Regions from separate parts of the Homo sapiens genome. Here region 2 is linked to region 1. Evidence: promoter capture Hi-C in human tissues and cell types (Jung and others, 2019). All regions are on one chromosome and are shown on one strand. Each heading gives the region's core, a stretch centred on a gene start or on the middle of the fragment in contact. The rest is flanking DNA. Distances are from core to core; before and after follow the strand shown. Region 1 holds the start of ARHGAP11A (Rho GTPase activating protein 11A). Region 2 overlaps ARHGAP11A-SCG5 (ARHGAP11A-SCG5 readthrough).

Region 1 (7,448 bases), core at 3,827-6,326:
AATATGTAAAAGTTAAAAAAATATTTTTAACATTATGAGAGATTAAATCATTTGCTGGTTTGAAACAATTATGTTTTAATCAACTATTTCTTTTAAACTCTCTAAAACCAGTTTGAAATGCTTACTCTCTTCTTCTTCATTTCCCTGGCTAGAAGGCTCACTGCAGCCTCCACCTCCTGGGCTCAAGCAATCCTCCCACCCCAGGCCCCTGAGTAGCTGGGACTACAAGTGTGCTCCGCCAAGCTAATTTTTCTATCTTTTGCGACAAGGTCTCACCATGTTGCCCAGGCTGGTCTTAAGCTCCTGGACTCAAGTGATTTGCCCACCTCGGCCTCTCAAAATGCTGGGGTTACAGGCATATGCCACTGCACCCGGCCTTCTTCATTTCAAACTCTGCTTACCTTGGAATGTGTCCATATTCTGGTACAGCAGAATGGGGCAGTGCATTAAAAGGTACTCCAAATATTTTACCCTAAAATGACAAATTCAGTTACTCTAACACAAATATTAGGCATAATATCAGTTTTCTTAAACTTTAGGCAAATTAAAGAACTCAGGAAATTAAAAAAAAATCAGAAATAAATGATAAACTATCTATCAAGACAAAAATAATCATTTCAAGTGCATTTGATAACAAATAATTACTATATTAGACAGTATGCTGAGTGCTGGGAGTACAAAGATGGCCAAGATAATGTCATTCCCCTCAAATAATCTAGTAAACTCAAGTTTCCAATCTGATCATAAAGTCAATTTGGTTAGTGGTTAGTCAGTAAATTCTTAAAACAGAATTTGGTCCAAAACACTAACATTTACCCCAAAATACTATAGGTTGCTTTAATGACCTTATAAATACTTACTAGATACTTTCTTTTGGTCACCTTATAAATACTTACACAAAAGACTAAGTCAATTGAAAAGCAAAACACTAATTCCTGTCATTCATTGAGTCTTCCTAAAATTACATCAGAAGAAGTTATTTTTATACCTAATACATTTTCCACCTTCTATAGAAGAGTGCTTTTCAAACCATGCCCTGCAGTAAGCAAGGCAGGAGTGTGCAAATATTTAAGTCAAACTTCATTTAACTAGCTGGAAACCCATTTTTAAAACCTCACATTCAAATTTTAATACACTGAAGATCCCAAGAGTAAAGCTGTGTGTTGGTTAACTTGAATGTTTTTGCACACTGAAGAATAAAGAATCTGCCACTATCTTTGTGCATGCATTCGAACCTCTTAAAAATGTGTCGCTTTCCACAGCACTGAAAGGTAAATTCAAGCCTGTAAATGTCTGGTTATTCAAACTTAAGTGGGTATGCATAATCTCACATGTTAATTTAGTTTACATGCATCTGCTCTGTGAATGCTGAAGTACTTTTTTTGATGTCACAAGTTATCAACCAAGAAGTATTTATGTTTTATGAGCATTATATTTAACTTTATATTTACAATAAAAACCACTCAGCATTGTCAATGACGCAACACAGTAACAAAATTTTACTAATTCCCTTTCAAGCACCTGGCTCCAATTAATTTACAAATATTGTAAGCTGAAAAGACAGTATAGTATAGTAAGTGCTTAAGAGAGTAGGCTCCTGAAGGCAAAAATGACAGGTGTATTTTTTTTGAGAGGGAGTCTCACTTTGTGGCCCAGGCTGGAGTGCAGTGGCGCAATCTCGGCTCACTGCAAGCTCCGCCTCCCGGGTTCACCCATTCTCCTGCCTCAGCTTCCCGAGTAGCTGGGACTACAGGCGCCCGCCACCACACCTGGCTAATTTTTTTGTATTTTTAGTAGAGACGTGGGGCGGGGGGGGGGGGGTTTCACCGTGTTAGCTAGGATGGTCTCGATCTCCTGACCTCGTTATCCACCCGCCTCGGCCTCCCAAAATGCTGGGATTACAGGCGTGAGCCATCGCACACACAAAAATGCCAGGCTTTACATCTTAACTCTTGCTTAACAGCTGAGTGACCTGGATCAAATTAACATTCTGTTCCTCGGTATCCTCACACAGATCCTAAGTCATAGAGGTGTAGGAAGAATTAAATAAATTAAAACATACAAAACACTTGTATCAGTGTCTGACACACAGTAAGCATTCAAAAAATATTTGTTAATATTATGATCATCATTTTAAGCTGAACTATTTTAAAAAATGTTAGTATGGGCAACCCCTTTATTGGGTAAATCAGAATTTTCTTGATACTGTGCAGCCAAACCAAATGTAAAAATAAACCAGATACTTAAGCTGGTAAGTCTACTTCTGCTATATATAACTAGAATTCAGCGTGTTTTTTTCCTTAAGTCTTATTATTTAGAATAACTGGCCTCACAAGTAACCACTATAATTTAATCTCATAAAATGTTTTTAAAACTTAAAACTACAGTTAGCTAACAAACACCAGTCGGCTAAAGAAATTGTTTTCAAACAAACTATCCCATTAGATCTCCTAACACAATGATCTTCTATATTTCTTCATTAGAATATTCTTATAAGTGTTTCTAGCTGAATTTATATGGCATGATTACCAATTAGGAGGCAGACCAATGATATGACAACTATCATTAGATGAAGAAGTGGCATGTTACCCGCACTGTGCTAGGCCTACATAAAGAGCTTCACTTTTTAAAAATCCCTAAATAATCCAAGGAGAAATACGTTCCCACTTTATATATATAAAACTGAAGCTTAGGGAAATCAAACAAGCAGCCCAAGTTTACAGATGTAGTAGGGGTGGAACAGCACTCAAACTCAGGTCTATCTGACTCTGAAAACAGGCAACAGTTTTTCTTGTTAAGCGGTGAAAAGGCCGAGTGCAGTGGCTCACGCCTGCCATCCCACCACTTTGGGAGGCCGAGGCGGGCGGATCACGAGGGCAGGAGATCGAGACCATCCTGGCTAACACGGTGAAATCCCGTCTCTACTAAAAAATACAAAAAATTAGCCAGGTGTGGTGGCGGGCGCCTGTAGTCCCAGCTACTCGGGAAGCTGAGGCAGGAGAATGGCGTGAACCCGGGAGGCAGAGCTTGCAGTGAGCCAAGATCGCGCCACTGCACTCCAGCCTGGGCGACAGAGGGAGACTCCATCTCAAAAAAAAAAAAAAAAAAGGAAAAGAAAAGAAAAGGGGTGAAAAAAAGTCCATATACAAACTCTTCCATATACTTACAAAATCAGCTACATTTGAGATCTTGGAAAGCCAGTTTTACAATCAGAAAAAAATCACTGTAGCTTTTTAAATGTAAGTACATGTATTGCCATTAATTTGCTACCAACAAAAATAACTTCTCCAAAGTTTATCAGCGATTAAGAGGCACACATATTACTTTTGTTAGTGGTTTTCTTCTCCAAGCACTTTTTTTAAGAAACCATAAACTATTAAAAGCAACGTATATTAATTTTATTAGCTTGTCTCCAAGTACTAGGAAGTACCATATAAATTAGGCACATAAATTTAAAATAAAATGCTTTACATTCAGCTTATTTTTCACAATGGAATTCCTGATTATGTGGCAGAGCTATTAAAATCTCATTCAAAATCCCTTTATTTCAACCACCAAAACATCAACAACTTCTCAATTATTCCACTCTGGCTTCTCAATTTACTCATACAAAAAAAAATTTACTGTCCCAAAAGTATGACATGGCCAAGCAGCAAATCTGTTTCCCAAATTAGTGAATATGCAGTCATCATTTGAAGCCTATTTCTAATGTTCTGTCATACTTCTTCATCTACAGATTCATGTAGAAAATGCACTGGTCTCCCTTGTCCCTCTACAACCTTACTCTAAAACAAGGGTGGAGGGGTAGAGTTTTTGTCCCTCCCAACGTACTACCTGTTCCAAATACAGTAAGCTGGCAATATCCGGAGACATTTTTAATTGTCACAACTGAGAGATGCTACCAGCATCTAGTGGGTAAAAGACAGACATCCCGCTAAACATCCCACAATTCACAGAACAGCATTTCGTCTTCCCCTAACAAAAATTATCTAATCCAAAATGTCAATAGTGCTGAAGTTGGAAAATCCTGCAACTTTCTCTCAATGATCAAAAATCCTTGGGGGAAAAAAAACAAGAATGTCACTTTTTAAATATCAGCAATCGACCATCTGAACTGAATTACACACCTAACCATTCTTTTTGATACACAGAGTGAACATTTTAGCACGATCTGGTAGTAAGTGATGATAAAGGGTGTGCCCTTTCTTTTAAACCTAAATCCCTTTTCACAGAACTTACCCCTATTTCCGTGGCTGCTGTTTCATGTCTCCTGCGATCGCACTGCCCACGGACACCCTTCACCTTAATACCATAGAAGGCCCGCAGATGCTGCAACAGGGCCAACCTCACCAGCCTCTGATCCCACATTCCGGATACGTCGATAACTCTCTGAGGCAGGATGCAGGTCCTGACCCTCGTTCGCCACCAAGTCTTCCAATTTCCAAACGCTCTCAAATTTGAACTCCGCTCGGCTGCTTTCCGGCCCCGTCTGGCACTTCTGCGGCCCCGACCCCCGGCCACTTCCACGGCTTTTCCTTGATCCTCACTCACATCCACTTACACAGACCCGCTTCTCTTAGCCCTTTGATCCAGCCACACCTCACTCTTCCTTCACTTACACCGACCTTCTTTCTGGTCACCCAATGCTTTCAGCTACTCACATAGACTTCTTTCTGATTCTTTCGGTTTCTCGTCTATTGCCAGATTCTCTCCACTTCTTGCTACTTCCAACGATCCCCCTTCCTCCAAACCTTACTGTCCCCGTCTGGTTCGCTCTGAAATGTGAAGAAAACCCTTCTCGCTCCTCCAGCCCCAGCAGGCTCAACTGGGCGCTCGCCCCCGCCCTAGCCTGGCCGCCGGACCAGCCGGCTGCTCAGGCAACTCTTCCAGTCCCGGTGCCCGCCCGGGCTGGTAGCCGCCGTCACCCCGTCTCACAGGCTGCTCGTTCCCTCCCCCATCAGCCTGCCTCTACCTCCCGGCCTGCACATCCCGGTGCGTTCACTGAAGCCAAGCCGTTAGCCTCATGCTTCCGCCCCCAGCTCCTCCGCAGACACCCAGAGCCACCACGGGGGGGTCACACCCGCAGTTTCAGCCCAGGCTCAAATGGCAGCGCGAAACAGCGCTCCACATCTGATTGGTCCACTCCTCTTTTCAAAATCAGGACCCCGGAGGGTGGCCGAGAGCTGCCTGTCTAGATAAGTGCGGGCGAAGGGGTGTAACGGGCAAACCCAGCAAACATGAAAAGCAGGATGAGTTTCACTTGTTCCTTCAAGGCCAGTTTTTGGGGCGGGGGAATACTGTTTAAAGGTTTTTAAATACACCTGACCTGCGCCTCAGACCATTCACAGTATTTGAGGAAATATAAAAGACAACTTATTCCCGTTCTTTTCCGAGCTTGGCTGTCGCTGAAGGCCCTCTTATGAAGAAACCGTTCTTACGGAAGCCCAGATGAGACAACTTGAGACAGGATTCAGAAACGCTGATTTTAGTAACCTTAACCCTCGGCCCTTGGTGGGAACTTCGGCTCTGTGGGAATTAGTCTTTGGGGGACTGATGGTCATGCTGAAATCTTATTGCGTAGGAAATTAAGTACAACAAAGAAGACCCGTCGTGAGAGGAGAGTGCGGAAGAAATGCGAAGTCTACGGGAGGTGGCAGCTGCAGAAGCTTGGTGTTGGATTTGGCGTTAGGAGACCGGGAGGAGCCCAGCTTCCGGTCCAGACGGTTATCTTGTTGACTTGCACGACTGCAAACGCCCTGAGCTGCTTTTGCAGTCTGAAACATCAGCGATCCCATCAAAATATTCTGTTTCTTGGGATATAAGAAACATCCCAAGGCGGGCTGTAGAGCGAGAGATTTGGACTCGATTTAAATACAGACAAAATAGTATGCATTTACTAACACCACATCTCACCCCCACGAAACTTGGTAAGGGCAGCAACAGAACTTTATCTGCCATATGCACTCCTGTATTCCTATTACCAAATAGTGCCAGGGACTAAGTGAATATTTGTCCAATGAATGAGTTTTAAGTAGGAAACGTTTGCATAGAATCATTTTGTTTCTTTTGGAGTTCAAATCTTCGGATATTTTACCCTTCCCAATCCAAAGAAAAGTCTCTGAGTGAAGAGATGGGAACAAAATGTAAGTTAAATATGTTGCTTTAACAACTGTTTATTGAACTCGTGCTATAGACTATAGAATGATGAGCAAAACCAGGCACAGTTTCGGCCCTGGAAGAGGAAAGGCAGGCATATATTTATCAAGTAAGTACATTAATGGCGGCACTTATCAGTTGAGAGAAGTGCGCTAAGGAAAGGAATATGATTCTATGATAGCGTATAATAAAAGATCCTTGACCGGGGAGGGGAAACGTACCAGTGATTAACTGATCTGAAGAATCAGTATAAATTGACTTTGTAGAAAGTATAGGTGGATGGCTGAGTGGGACCATCATTCAGGAAGCAAATGCCTGCAGAAAAAAACATCAATTTTAACAAGAAACGGTGTATCAGAGATGAAACTGAACCTATTCCTTGTCTTTTCTTCTTGCTTCAGACATAACTTTAAAAAATTGCTTACGCTGTCTTTAGCCACATCTCTTCCCCAAACTCCACACTGTTCGGCGTTTTAGCCGTCTCAAATTTCCTTTTCTTAAAGACCCATGACAATCTTCAGTGTTGTGTCTTTTTCTACGTCGTGATCCTTTTTTAAAGCTGAGCTCTTCTTGTTTTTCGTCTCCTTTCTCTTTTTTTTTTTTTTTTTTTGTGATGGAGTCTCGCTCTGTCGCCCAGGCTGGAGTGCAGTTGCACAATTTCGGCTCACTGCAAACTCCACCTCCCACGTTCAAGCAATTCTCTGCCTCAGCCTCCCAAGCAGCTGGGATTACAGGCGTCTGCCAGCAGGCCCGGCTAATTTTTGTATGTTTAGTAGAGACGGTGTTTCACCATTTTGGCCAGGCTGGTCCTGAACTCCTGACCTCGTGATCCACCCGCCTCGGCCTCCCAAAGTGCTGGGATTACAGGTGTGAGCCACCACATCCGGCCCTTCCTTTCTCTTAAGATGAAAATATTGGTTCTTTTTTCCTACACACAAGGAGGCAATGAAAATATTGGTTCTTTTCATTGCCTTATTATTAATGTTACTATTAATAAATATTAATATTAACATAATGGTTATTTGCTTCATCTACCTATATTCACAGGTATATAAACACAACAATAGCAATAACAGGATAAAGAATAAAAACAGAATAACAATAGAGATATTGCTAACAGATAAATGAAGTTTAACTTTGCATGTACTTCCTTTTTTCTAAAATTGTATCCAACTAAGGATGTAAAATCAAGATACTGTGTTTTAAATGAACTGGGCATAATTATTCTTTTTGGTTATATATGGATGTACTGTAGTTTATTTAGCCAGGCCCTTACTAGTGGATATGTTGGC
Region 2 (6,900 bases), core at 2,081-4,580, 35 kb before region 1:
CTTCCCAGCCTCCAGAACTGTGAAATAAACCTTTGTTATTTAAGCCACCTAGTCTGTGGAATTTTTGTTATAGCAGCCTGAACAGACCAGAAGACAAGCTGTATCCCTAGATAAGTCTCATCTCTGAGTTTCTTTTTCCACATCTGTAAAAGGTGGCAAGGAATACTCACCCTCCTTGCCTGCCTCCAGTAAGTGATTGTGAGGGTAAGCATGACACTGTGCATGAAGACAATTTGAGACCCAGACTCTGTTAGAGAGATTCAAAAGCAAAATACCATATTTATGTGGATTATAATAATTTTCCTTAGGAAATGGAGGCTTGATGACAGCTGTGTTAATTTTATTCCCCAACACCCTATTAATTTCATGTGTCAGACTGCCTAAGTTATAGTACCCAGTTGTGTGATCATAAGCCAACACTAGATTTTTCTGTGAAGGTATTAAAGTGAGTAATATTTAAATCAGTGAACTTTAAGAAAAGCAGATTACTCTCTATAATACGGGTGGACTTCATCTAATCACTGAAGACGTTAAGAGAAAAGACTGAGGTCCTCTGAAAAGGAAATAATTCGGCCTCTGGACTGTCTTCAGACTCAAAATTATCAACTCTTGCCCAAGTCTCCAGTCTGTCTTACAAATTTTCAACTTGCCAGCCCCCACGTTTATATGAGCCAACTCTTTAAAATAACTGTCTGTCTCTCTATACATTCTATTGGTTCTGTTTGTCTGTTTCTCTAGAGAACCCAGGATTTACATCTGGTTCTAGTGACTTCCATGAAAATACACTGGGGCTCAGACTTACCCAGGCTCCAACCCATATAGAAGTGAATATTTCACAAGGATTATTCTACAGTCAGACAACTGGCAGAGCAATTAGTAGTTGCCATACAGCAAACTTAATTTCAGGAGTTGTTATCTAGTTTTCTGTGTCCCTCTTTGACATTCTAAGATAGTCACATGTTATTTAAGGAATGGACTAAAGATCTCACTCGTGATTGAAAATTCACAAAATTCAAGAACAATCCTAATTGAGGATGATGACAGATTCTACCGATCACTGTTTAGAATTACTAAGCCTACTACTTTGAAATTGTGATTCTTGACAAATTGTTATTTGGGGAAGATTCACATTATTTCACATTTTGTGCATGCAATAAGGCTGTGCTAATTTTTTACATTGTACTGTTCCAAAGACACATGAAGTGTTCACATAAAATTCCCCAACACCCTATTAAGATTATTTTCTATTTTTGTTCTAGGTTTATGCTTCACTAAAACATTTATTACTATTAAACAAGATATAAAATAGACAAAGATGACACTTTAGATCTTTTGATCTACAAGACATCTAGGAGTTATAAAAAGTAAATATTAAAAGTTTATACTATAACTAGTAAATAACTAATAGTTATAGTTGTAAAAGTTAAAAATAGTGCTGTCCAAAATTTTAAAACATCAAAAGACATATCAGTGAGGTGTATAAATGTATAAGCTGGCAAAGAAAAGAGATTTGGGAGACTGCATTTCATTCTTGTATTCTTATTTTAATTGAGAAGGTGGCTAGAATTAGTACAGTGCTTGCAAACACCTGAGGCCAAAACCTCCAAAGCTCTGTATCCCAGCACACCTTTGCCACTTTCCTTTTTCCCCAATGGAGGAAGGAAAGACCTAAGACACAGGCCAACACCTGTGCTCCAGTCCTCATCCTCTCCCACCTCCTCAGTTGCTGCTCCCCATCCCACATCTTCAACTCTCCCTCTCTGCTGGTTCTTAGCAATTAGCACTTCAGCAAGTTCAATTTCTCACATCCTAAAACAACCTTAACAGAAACCGTCCTCAGCTCTAAATCATTCACCCTTCCCCCAATCCTTCCACAGCTATTACTCATCTCCCCTTTACCTGACATTCTGGGAACACATTTATACGTTGCATTTCTTCCTTGTTTATCCCCTCAATGCCCTGCAGGTATGGTGGGCCCCCACTACTCCCCAGAGCCGGCTCTGCCCAAAGCCCCCACAAAGCAGTAACTTCTGTGTTGCTACCCCCAGTGAACACTTGACACCCAGTGGTTTTTACTATTTCATGTGACCTCTCTGCTGATCCTGACAGTGGTAACCACTGCCCCTTCTCAGAACACTATTTCCTTGTTTTCATTACACTCTATCTTTCTGGTTCTTCTCCTTTCTGGCCGATTTATCCCAGTTTCCTTTGTGGATTCTTCTTCATCTACCTGGCCTTTGTCTTAGGTGCCCTGTTGTTCTCAATACCCACCCAGGGTGACCCCATCCACCCCTACAGTATCAGCCACCACTAACACGGGGATGACTCTGAAACCCTTCCTTCTCCCAGACTTCTCTCCTGTGCCATATACATCTAAGTGCCTTCTGGATACCCAGGACACTGTAAACATACACAAACATGTCATCGTGTTCATCTTTCCTATCCTTTTCCCCTCCCAAAAAGAACCTCCCCGTTTCTTTTGAATTTCTCATTACTATCCATGCAATTGCTCAACAGAGAAAAACTGAAAATCATCCAGAGACTTTAAGGATTGAAGTTCAAGGTGGACAAAATGCAACCCCAAAGGCATGGGCCCATTGGGCGGTCCCAGTCCATTCATAGATGGCCTACAAGCCCAATGTTCTCATTGGTTCCTCCAGGGTGAGGATAACCTAGAAACAGATTTTAGTCAAGACACATAAGAGTCAGCTGCACTGCTTTCTCCAACTGCAGAGAGAGACTAGCCAGAAACGGAGTGTCCCCTACAGTTCAAGGTTTGCTTCACCCCGCCATCCTCAAATGGGAAGCAACTGTTGCCACCCTGTGGCAAAGCGGAGGCACTGCAGCTCCTTTACCAAGGCCAAAGCTTGGCAGAGTAGAGGCTCCTAGGATCTGCCTCTTCAAGTAGCCTATCATCCACAGGACTCTTTCTCCACTTGATATTTATTAAGAAAATAACCTTGGGTCTCTATTTCTAAGTGAAAAATTTGAAGTCCAACAGTCAGTGTTATAAAAAAGAACGTATTTTATTTTATTTTATTTTTCTGAGACAGAGTTTCGCTCTTGTTGCCCACGCTGGAGTGCAATGGGCGATCTTGGCTCACTGCAATCTCTGCCTTTAGGGTTCAAGCGATTCTCCTGCCTCAGCCTCCCGAGTAGCTGGGATTACAGGCACGTGCCACCATGCCCAGCTAATTTTTTGTATTTTTAGTAGAAACGGGGTTTCACCATGTTAGCCAGGCTGGTCTCGAACTTCTGACCTCAGGTGATCCGCCCGCCTCGGCCTCCCAAAGTGCTGGGATTACAGGCGTGAGCCATCGCGCCCGGCAGAACGTGGGTATTTTAATGTTTGGCAATATGGATTTAAAATTACTCAGAGCCATCAAATGCTAATGTTTATACATTTCTATCTTAATGGCTAGATAACTGGTGTTATCACAGTGCTAGATAGCTGGTGGCCTAGAACTGTGGGGAAAATGAACAGCTGGCACTGAGCAGCCTATCTTTTACCTGAAGCTGTTAATGTTCTGAAAACGAAAGCACATTTTCTGGTTGGATTCATCCAAGGCCATCCAAGGCCATCATCAGTGTCAGCTGGCACAACCAGTTCTAACTCCCAAGAGCTCCCATCTCACAGCACATGGTTCTCCGAATCAGTCCCCTGGACAGTTGGTGGCTTTATTTGTTTCTGGGGATAATACAACAGTAGCCATTTAGCTATGTCTTGGAGACCAGTGAGCAACCGTGGGCTTGGGAGAAGATGGTTACTGCTGAAATATATGGTGCACTGAAGCATATCTGAACTGTATTGCTAACTGATGAGTAATCAAAAATAAGACTGGGGCGCCGGGCGTGGTGGCTCACGCCTGTAATCCCAGCACTTTGGGAGGCCGAGATGGGCGGATCACGAGGTCAGGAGATCGAGACCATCCTGGCTAACATGGTGAAACCCCGTCTCTACTAAAAATACGAAAAAAAAATTAGCCAGGTGTGGTGGCGGGCACCTGTAGTCCCAGCTACTCGCGAGGCTGAGGCAGGAGAATGGCATGAACCTGGGAGGGCAGAGCTTGCAGTGAGCTGAGATCCCGCCACTGCACTCCAGCCTGGGCGAAAGAGCAAGACTCCGTCTCAAAAAATAAATAAATAAATAAGATTGGGGTAAGCCATTAAAGACTGAAAACATGTTGTTGATAATCCACAAAGTGAGAGGAGGAAGGCCTGCAATTCAGTTACTAATGGCACCCACTGATTGCATGTAAGAGTGGGCTGGAAACCCCATTTTATTTTATTTTTATTTTTCAAACACCAACTCGAACCAGACAAGCCCATTTTATTTGGGCCGATTTTATTTGAGAGAACTAGGCTTAGAAAGTTGCCAGGATTACACATAGCTAGAAAATAGTACGGCTACGGGTTAACCCGAGTTCTCTGCCATAAACATACACACTCTTTTTTTTCATGTAATGCCAAGTAGGTCCCTGTTTGTCTTTGTGTTTTTATTTGCTTTGGACTAAGAATTTACACATTTGAAAGATGCTCCTTACCAAGCTGTTTTTAAGGCGCCCACGGAGAAGTTAAACATAACCCCCAATCCTCTCTGGATGTTTTGGCAAATGCTTCTACCCCAGCGACCACTTAAAGCTATTAACGACCAGGAGGCTGGCTACCAGGGTTCAGGAATCTTCCAAAATAAACTTCTAGTCTAGTTGGCCCTCTGCTGGTTTAGTCCCAGGACTGCAAAAAGTCCTTCTAGCTCCTTGGTAGGCGCTGTACAAAGGGCACAAACCTTGCACCATGGTGATCACAGTCATAGTCAATTCTAGATAACAGACATTTTTGCTCACCACATTATCACTAAGCTCATGGCAAGAACCTCTAGGCAGAGATTTTTAAAAACAGAATAGAAATGGAATATTTTCCTTGAACTAAAAGGCAGAAAGTCTTGACAGATCCAGATGTAAAACAGTATTTACATACTTATTGCCATTAGGTATATTTATTTCCCCCTGATATTATACATTAATTCCTCAAATATTTACTGAATGCTTACTATGTGCCTGGAATATAATGCAGTTAATAAGCAGATATAGCCTCATGGAGCTTACATTCCAGTGGAGAGATAAACAATAAGCAAGAAAACAAACAATGATTATAAATGACAAAAAATGCTATGGAGCTTTAAAAAAAAAGGCTGGACATGGCGGCTCACGCCTGTAATCCCAGCACTTTGGGAGGCCAAGGCGGGAGGATCACGAGGTCAGGAGGCTAACACGGTGAAACCCCGTCTCTACTAAAAACACAAAAAATTAGCCGGGCGTGGTGGCGGGCGCCTGTAGTCCCAGCTACTGGGGAGGCTGAGGCAGGAGAATGGCGAGAACCCGGGAGGCGGAGCTTGCAGTGAGCCGAGATCGCACCATTGCACTCCAGCCTGGGGGACAGAGTGAGACTCTGTTTTTTTTTTAAAAAAAAAAAAGGAGACTGCAACAGAGAATGTAGGGGGGTGCTACTCAGACAGGGCAGTCAGGCAGCCCTCTCTGAGTGGGTGACTTTGAAACTCGCTACACAAGGAATGGGAGGTTGATAGCCTCCCATTGTTGATCCCATCCAATGTGTTGATAGCCTTGAGGTGGGAAGAGGCCGGTGTGACTCAGGGCCAGAATGCGTGGAACAAAGTAGGGAGTACGATTGACTGGAGCTGTGGATCCTCGTAGGTCATGGCAAGAAGGGTTATTTTTATTCAGGGTACGATGGGAAGCCACCAATGGAATTGTAACTACGGAGATGACACTAATATGGTTTAAACTTTTCAAGTTTAACTCCTGAAAAAAGTTTAACTCCTGTTCTTCCTGTGAAGAACAATCGAAAAGGGATCAAGAATAGAAGCAGGAAGATGAGTTAGGAGGCGATTTCAAAACTCCATGCCAGACATGATGGTATCTTGGACCAGGGTGTTTGGAGTAGAGCTAGAGAGAAGCAGACAGGAAATTGCACATGGATTTTAGAGATAAAAATGAAATAAATTACTTAAAATTGAGGCATGAAGTGTGATGGAGAAAATCAAGGGTTACTGTAGGTATTTAGTTTGCATATATGGCTAAGCAGGGGCACTACTCATTTAGACAGAAAAGACTGATATAAACAGGCTGGGGAAGGTGGTGGTTTGAGAAATCAGGATCGAAACCTGGCAATTTAGCAATTAGTGTAAGCCTATGGATATGCAAGAAAGAAATGTGGGCTGAAATACAAACACCGGAGTCACCAGCCAAGAAATGGATTGAGAGTCAAGAGAATGAATGAGATCAAGTAGATAGAGAATTGAGGGAAATAAGAGAAGTGGACCCAGCACTGAGCCCTGGAGAACTTAACTTTTAAAGGCCGCCAGAGAAACCTGTAAACGAAACTAACAAATGGGTAAAGAAAAAAAGGAAAAAAGGAAAGCCCAATACTTATTTGTTTATTTAAGGACTACATTTCCTCGCCCTGCTACTTTGCTGTTCACGTTTATTTCCTCAGTACCTAAAACAGTGCCTGGCACTCAATAAATACTAGTAGGTTTAATGAATGAGCGGTGAGAACAGTGGGCTACAATGGACCAGGAGAGAATGAGAGGTGAAGAAGTACAATTGGCATGTGAGGAAAGGCTGTGAAAGGCAGCTGTGAAAGGTTGCTGTGAAAGGCAGCAGAAAATTGGAACAGTAACTAGAAGGGATATGGAATCAAAGAAGATATGTTTTTTTTAATGGGATATATGATACCTCACTGACCTAACATTAATTTATACTGATACTATATTCCTATACTAAAAGGCCAATTTATAATTCTATATTTGAGAGCAAATATACACATTTGTTAAGATCCATTGATCATACAATTAATTTATTTAAGTAGACAAGATAGATA

What was found. The method cuts DNA at HindIII sites, captures the fragments that hold promoters and counts their contacts. A contact is called where the count stands out against the background at its distance.
Region 2: a contact is called between a fragment that was not itself captured here and the fragment with the promoter of ARHGAP11A in region 1, in 1 of the 25 tissues and cell types used here (hippocampus).

What each region holds. Positions count from the first base shown.
Region 1 is chr15:32,613,132-32,620,579 of GRCh38, reverse strand. ARHGAP11A (Rho GTPase activating protein 11A) reads right to left here and starts at 5,076. Exons shown (of 12, transcript NM_014783.6): 1 at 4,240-5,076; 2 at 402-472. The coding sequence starts at 4,368. It overlaps ARHGAP11A-SCG5 (ARHGAP11A-SCG5 readthrough), which reads right to left and starts at 5,104. Exons shown (of 14, transcript NM_001368319.1): 1 at 4,240-5,104; 2 at 402-472. The coding sequence starts at 4,368. It overlaps ARHGAP11A-DT (ARHGAP11A divergent transcript), which reads left to right and starts at 5,834. Exons shown (of 3, transcript NR_135833.1): 1 at 5,834-6,143. The HindIII fragment of the contact is 9,261 bases long and covers 1-7,276 here.
Region 2 is chr15:32,647,345-32,654,244 of GRCh38, reverse strand. The region is part of intron 10 of ARHGAP11A-SCG5 (ARHGAP11A-SCG5 readthrough); the gene reads right to left. The region is part of intron 2 of SCG5 (secretogranin V); the gene reads right to left. Among named protein-coding and RNA genes, the nearest start is that of SCG5, 9.1 kb to the right of the region's middle. The HindIII fragment of the contact is 6,064 bases long and covers 299-6,362 here.